2 separate regions of the Homo sapiens genome follow, and region 2 is linked to region 1. The links are contacts of gene promoters, found by promoter capture Hi-C in human tissues and cell types (Jung and others, 2019). All regions are on one chromosome and are shown on one strand. The core of a region is centred on a gene start or on the middle of the fragment in contact, and the rest is flanking DNA. Distances in the headings are between cores, read along the strand shown.

Evidence for each region. The method cuts DNA at HindIII sites, captures the fragments that hold promoters and counts their contacts. A contact is called where the count stands out against the background at its distance.
Region 2: a contact is called between a fragment that was not itself captured here and the fragment with the promoter of COPS2 in region 1, in 1 of the 25 tissues and cell types used here (hippocampus).

What each region holds. Positions count from the first base shown.
Region 1 is chr15:49,154,115-49,157,713 of GRCh38, reverse strand. It overlaps COPS2 (COP9 signalosome subunit 2), which reads left to right and starts at 2,115. Exons shown (of 13, transcript NM_004236.4): 1 at 2,115-2,189. The coding sequence starts at 2,136. It also overlaps a transcript of GALK2 not described here and the pseudogene NDUFAF4P1. RefSeq lists enhancers at 1,163-2,081, 1,840-2,369. The HindIII fragment of the contact is 9,462 bases long and covers 1-3,599 here.
Region 2 is chr15:49,011,208-49,014,633 of GRCh38, reverse strand. SECISBP2L (SECIS binding protein 2 like) reads left to right here. Exons shown (of 18, transcript NM_001193489.2): 12 at 1,817-1,986; 13 at 2,771-2,903. Among named protein-coding and RNA genes, the nearest start is that of SECISBP2L, 34 kb to the left of the region's middle. The HindIII fragment of the contact is 5,342 bases long and covers 1-3,426 here.

The DNA.
Region 1 (3,599 bases), core at 866-3,365:
CTTGCTATTTTTTCTCTCTTCTCTCAACTAGCATTAACATCCAAAACTATATATAATCACCAAATTTCATTTACCATGGTTTTTTAATTATTCTTTAAATTTTTCTAGTTCCATGTTAAATCCAGAGAAATGTTACTTTTTCGAAAGTTTCTACTACTGCCTCTCTCTCTGAAGGCCATGGGACTTAACTATTTGTCAAAGCAGAAATTCCCAACATTTCGTAAACACCACTAATTACTTTTTATAACTGTAAAGACAATTATTCCATACTTAAAACCAATTCAAAATAAAATAAATCCTCAATACTTCTTATTCCCTGGGGTAGTAATTTTAATTAGATTTTATTGATTCTTTATTTTCTCCTATGTGCCTTTATTTGGGAAATACTGTTAGTCTACCTTACTATCGAGTCTCTTTCCCTAGCAAGAAAATGTCAGTCTTAAGAGTCAGGAAAGCTTTTACTTTCACTATCACATATGAAGAATGAACTAAACACCTAAATTGGATAGGAAAACTTAAATGAGGGATTCAGGACACTTCCCAAGGGGTCATATGACCAATTTAAAAGTTGGTATGATGTGTCTAAAATAACAAATTAACTCTTTTACTTATAATAAAGGTACAGATGTGCTGATTAGTCATGCTAACATGTACATATGAAATATGCCTAAACCAAATTAAAAGAAAACAAAATACAGTCTATGGCAATCTTGAAAATTCAGGGAGCTCAATAAATATTAAGAGGATGCTCTCACAATGAGAGCATTAAACACTTGGTAATTAACATAATTTAATATGCAAAAATAAGAAAATATACAGGATGAGGGATGAGGAGTACACATAGGAAATTTTTGTGATTTTCTTCATTTTGATTGTATTGCTTTCTTGTCTTCAGGAGGGAAGATTTTGACTTCAAAAGTAACAAAATATTTAAGAAGGGAATTCACATCTTTCTGTTCTAAATGATATTCTTGCGCTATTTTCTCAGCAGTTCATGTTTCTGGATAAAGTTTATGATTATTGAAAAGTGTCAATGCTTCTACAGTGGAAATTTTGCCTTTGGGAATGCTCTTAATATTTATCATATCAAAGTGATGGCCTTTCGGCAATCTGAATTTCTTTGGCTCCTGACGTGTTTCAGCAGCTTTCAGCTGCACGGAAGACACAGGATCTTTGGAATCAACACACACATATTTTAGAAATGACAGCAGCTTGTCATCTTTACGAGCAATCTCTCCCTTAATTTCTGGATAGAGACTAATCTGCTCTGGCAGGAGGCTGCTGGTAGAGGGGTGCCTGGGAGCGAGAGAGGGCTTCATGTTGCGGATTTCCCTTTCCGCTCGGTTCTCTTGAAATTCCTGATCCCGCGAGTCACCGCAGCCCCCATCTCCTTACAACATGATGCCCTCAGGTTCACAGTAATGTATTTTTTAAAAACCAGTCGTTGTTACCTTAATTTGGTCCCAAGGGCTGTAAAGGTCAGTTTACAACTCGTTGAACAACTGAGTAAGATTTAAGGCAACTCAACTGATAGCTGCATACCTAATTTAGGATATCCATAGAATTGTTTTGTCAACTACAAATATAACAAGCATTAAGTGTAAACTGTGTTGCTGAAAAGTACTCCAAGTATCTTAGGAACACCCACCGCAATGTGTGGGCTAAATGCACACGTACAATGATAGCAGAAATAATACCTGTCATATAGGACGGGCATGTCAGCCTTTTCTCCGCGAAAGGCTTCTGGTCCTAAGCTGTCCCTTACTTTCACCGGAATGAGATGCGTCCAGAGTCCCAAGCAAGGGAGGAGACTGCTCCTTTACCCAGGAGGCTGGAAACTGCTCGATGCGAGCGCAGTTTCCGACGCCCTTCGGCTGAGACCTGCAGCACCGGACGATGTCCCAGTTGCCAGCTTTAGTTGCTAAGGCACCAACCACTTCGGAGGAAACGGGGGGTGGTGCAGTCTCTTTTGGAGTCGTAGCGAATCAGCTACAAGTCGAGATAATTAGTTCCGGCAGGAAACAGCTCCTCTAAGAGGGACTGGAAGGCGGAAAGAAGCTGAGAGTGACGCCTCTGAGCCGCGGAGGATTGTGGGAGGAGGTTGTCTCCAATTTCTCCTCCCCCTCCCGGCCAAGATGTCTGACATGGAGGATGATTTCATGTGCGATGATGAGGAGGACTACGACCTGGTGAGGCGCAGGGAATGGAACTCTGAGGGTGGTGATGTGTCTTGTTTTCGGGGTCCGGGCCGGGGCGCCCGCGGCCTCTCCCCGTAGAGCATGTGCCGTTTACAGCCTCTCTCAGTGCGGTGACAGGACTGGTTTACCTCCTCCCCGTTCCCGCACCGGGCCCGGGCCCTGCTTCTCCAGCATGGGGGAAGGGAGGGCAAAGGAGGCAGCGAAGGGGGCCCCGGGCCTTGCCCTCCGAGTCTGAGCGCCTCTTCGGTTTACACGGATGCCCCTGGTCCCAGGCGTTCGGTTCTCTGTCTTCTGCCTCCCCACCGCGCTAGCCGCCTCGGTGACCATGCTGCGGTGTAGGCCCTGGCTTTGCCCTTTCGGGCCCAGCGTTCCGGGCCCCCACTTCTTCACACTGGAACTGAGCGGGTGCGAAATGCTAGGAGAAGTCAGAAAACGGGGGTGTCCTTACTGCTCCCAGGCCTGACTGCGAAACGCAACTTGTGAGTCTCCTGGAGACATAGCTTAAATAGTCTTGCCAGGGCCAGTTTTGGTCCGAGGTAAGTGTGTAGGGGAGAGTTCAGAGCAAAGATAACTGAAAAAAAGGTAGTCGAACCACTTTTTCAGTTCTTTATAAAGAAAAGCTGGGGAGGAGGTTTTGCTTGTGGTGTTTTTGGAGGACGGGTGAAAGATAATTGAACCCATGGCTTTTCCCTTAGAAATTTCCCAGTATACAAAGTTTAAAACAGCAACAGCATAGAAATAAACGAATTTTTCTGACCGAATGGAGATTTTTAAAGATTCAAAGCTTCATTTATTAATGGATTTGCAAGTTTGAATAACGTTTGCTATTCAAAAACATCGTGTGGAAACTCAGAAAATTATCTTGATCCAGAATTAACGTCAATTTTGCTGTGTTTCTTTATTTTGGGGGTGTTTCATATGGTTCTTTTATGGTGATGCTGCATTATCATAAAGTTACGAAATAGATGTTTTGGGACGTCTGACTCATTTTAAGTGCCAGAGATTGTCAAAATATTAATACATTGTTTTGAATTAGTCTATAACTTTTTCGTATATATTTTCAGTTTTTTGCATTTTAAAATAAGGCACACTTTGCAAAAGGGAGAAAGGAAATTCTCGCTATTATTTGAAAGTCATAGTAGAGATTTTTATAATTTTTAAAGTTAAATGTAGTTTCGCTAATAGTTATGGTTTCTACCTTACATTTTAGTTTGTGCAAGCCAGTTGTAGGCAGTGACTTCAGTTCATTAAGAATATGTATCTGTCCATTTTTACTTATTACCTGTTTATTTATATTACAGGTGTTTTGTTATCAAAATGTTTCTTTTATATGTGCTTGTATTTTTTTAATTGATTCATAGTATTTTGTACATATTTATGGGGGGTTTCGTTACATGCACA
Region 2 (3,426 bases), core at 39-2,538, 140 kb after region 1:
CTGGAAACAGGTCAGTGATGACTCCAGATTCTGTCTTGAATGACTGTGGTGGTGATAAGGGCTGCGATGTTACTACACAAGATAGGGATTATAGAAGAATTTTGTTGGGAAGAGCAGATGCTGCCTGTTGTATTTTAAATGCTAGCATGGGAGATTCTGGTGGTTCCTATTTAGCATATAGTTATGAATGTATAGTTTAGGTTACAAGTCAGTGAGTTTCAAATACAGATGATTGTTGAAGTTGTGGAAATCAGATTGTTGGGGGAAAGAAAAATTAGGAAAAAGATGTTCACAGACAAAGCCTTGTGGAATGCTCACATTTAAAGGATAAGAGGAAGAAGAACAAGAAACATAGATTTGAGAAAGAGTAAGAAAAATAAAGGAGTGTAATGTTACAGAAGGCAAGGATAGAATTTTGAGGAAAAGGATGTAGTCCTTGGTACCAAATGCTGAAGAAAATTAGAGTAGAGTGAAGAGTCAGAGAATTGTATTTGGCAATTGCAAGATTATGTGTGACCTTGACAGTACGTTTCAAGAGAATGGGTTGGGCAGAGGTCAAATTGTAATGATTTGAAAAGTGATAATGAGAGAAAAACTGTTTCGAAGTTTAATAGGGAAGGAAAGGGGAATGATGGCACCTTAGCTTGAAGGGAAGGGTTTAGTTGGTGTGCCTTTTTAAAAAACCCTTTCTTTTTTTTAGATAGAAGATTCTAGCATCTTATTAGGGGATCAAGAAAAAAGTCAAGGGTCAGGGAGGAACTCGAAAGATGCAAGGGTATAGGAATAGAGTTAGATCTTAGAGGAACTGAGATGGGATATTAAGAATAAAGACAGTTGGTGAGCCTTGGACAGGAGTAAGGATGTCTGCCACCTCCTTTCAGGTGGTTGGTAAGTTTATATTGGATAGCATCTTCTCAGGGAAGTGGCAGGAAAGCTCTGCTAGAGTGAGAGGATTGAGGTTGGGGATTTAGGTATAGTAAAGGATTGGAAGAAGCCAGTGGAAACTGAGGGTATCAACCAGACATAAAAGAATTACTGAGGCCGGGTGTAGTGGCTCACGCCTGTAATCCCAGCACTTTGGGAGGCCAGCGTGGGCGGATCACAAGGTCAAGAGATCGAGACCATCCTGGCCAACATGGTGAAACCCTGTCTCTACTAAAAATACCAAAATTAGCTGGGCGTGGTGGCACGTGCCTGTAATCCCAGCTACTCGGGAGGCTGAGGCAGGAGAATTGCTTGAACCCAGGAGGTGGAGGTTTCAGTGAGCCGAGATCGTGCCACTGCACTGCAGCTTGGGCGACAGAGTAGACTCCATCTCAAAATAAATAAATAAATAAATAAATAAAAATAATTACTGAGTGAGGCTGAGTGCAGCTGAGTGGGTAAAATCATCATTCTTTACTGACCAACTGAAATAAGGAGAGAAGTGATAGATAAGATATCTTACATAAGGACAAATAGCAGATTCAGTAGGAATAAGAAGGGGTGCAGCATTGTGAAGTTTCAAAGGTAGAATGGTTCTGACTGAAGACCAGTTGCAAGGAATTGCCATGTTTGAGGGTTGTACAGGAGAGTAGAACTAATTATTTACCCCTATAATGGACTTCTAAATTGGTTAATTGCATTGGCTTAGTCTCTAAAGGATAGGTAAAAGCTGTATCTGAGGGACACTGCCTAGCCATGTATAGTGCTCCTACTGTTATGATGTCGTTTTTTCCATGGGAGGAGGATGTTCTTGTTTTTGTAGTTATTGGAAATTTTGAAAGTATGTGGGATTGGCCCTAATGGTGAAACTAATGTTCCTCTTTGTTTTTAGTGGTTACTGCAGCTTCTTTTCACACTAAAGACTCTACTAATAGAAAACCTTTAACCAAAAGTCAGCCCTGTTTGACATCCTTTAATTCTGTGGACATTGCTTCTTCTAAAGCAAAAAAAGGAAAAGAGAAGGAAATTGCAAAACTAAAACGACCCACAGCACTTAAAAAGGTAAACCAAAATCTGGTGGGATATTTATTTTATAGGATGAATAAGGATTTTAATCTGTTTTGTAAAAGTAGGTTGTGGTGTCTTAGCCAACAGATTGTTGTGAGAAGTATTCATACACATGAATCTTGACGATAATGTGTTAATTTGAAGCTCAGGATATCATCAGTATCATGACTATCTTTCTGTGTAGAACGGGGCCCTGGAAAATGAATTATTTCTATAAGGTTAAAAAAAAGATAAATATGTAGTATCCCAAAACATTAAGACTCCAGGAATCAGAAGCCCTGGATTTCAGTATTAACTTCAGTGCTTGCTACACATATCATTTTAGGCAACCATTTTACTCTCATCTTTCTCATCTATAAATTGGGGAGCATATTTGATTTAACTCACTATTGTTAAAAGGGTCAAAATGAGATAATTCGTGTCCAAATAATTGAAAACTGTAGAATGTCAATCAAATGTAACTGTATGACCTGGGTTCCAAACTTTTTAATTTACCCTTTTTTTTTTTGGAAACTCTAGTTTGCCACCTAGGATTTAAAGCATCAGATATGGTTTGATAGCTGTATATTCTATAACATAATTGCTTTTCTTTATTTTGTATGCAGTACTTCCTTCAACTTACAGTGTCTGAAATTACATTTGCCTTTTTGCCAGTTAGCCAAACTTCTCATGTTCATGTTTAAGTGAACTACCATACCTGTGTTATAATGTATATTGTCATCATTTGTACACAGTTGAAGAGTAATCTGTAATTAAAGACTAGTGTAATGACTTTTAGGTTATTTTAAAAGAAAGAGAGGAAAAGAAGGGGCGCTTAACTGTGGACCACAATCTTTTGGGATCCGAGGAACCAACAGAAATGCACTTAGATTTTATTGATGACTTGCCACAGGAGATTGTTTCCCAGGAAGGTAAGGAGCTCCCCCTTTCTCCTCTTCTCATGGAATGGTCTGAAATATTTTAATAGATACGTAAGCTATCACTAGTTAATGCTCCTGATTGGAAGACGTGCTCCATATTTTACATAAATCTCTTTATTCTTCAGAGTGGTTTCTTTTAAAGATGCTTTTGTAGGGAGATGGTTAAAGAGAAGGGGACAGGTATTATATAGTAGGCCTATGACATTTTTGAGGCTTAAATCCTGAATTTGTAGTGAATTCTCAAAATTAAGATGTCACGAATGCATGGGATCTCTGGAATTGTCACAAGTATTTTCATTTTGTTTTCTTTTACGTCCAAAATACTGTTGGCTATCTTTCTTTTTAGGGCTACTTTTCATTGAGTCATTTTTGTTGATTTTCTTGCTTTCATGGAATTAATACATATGTCACAATGAATGCAATTGCAAAGCAGAATCTAGTTGGTCGATAAGATTCAGTGTCATACAGTAAGTAGCAACACATATGATTCCAGTTGGTAACTTAGTAAAACCGC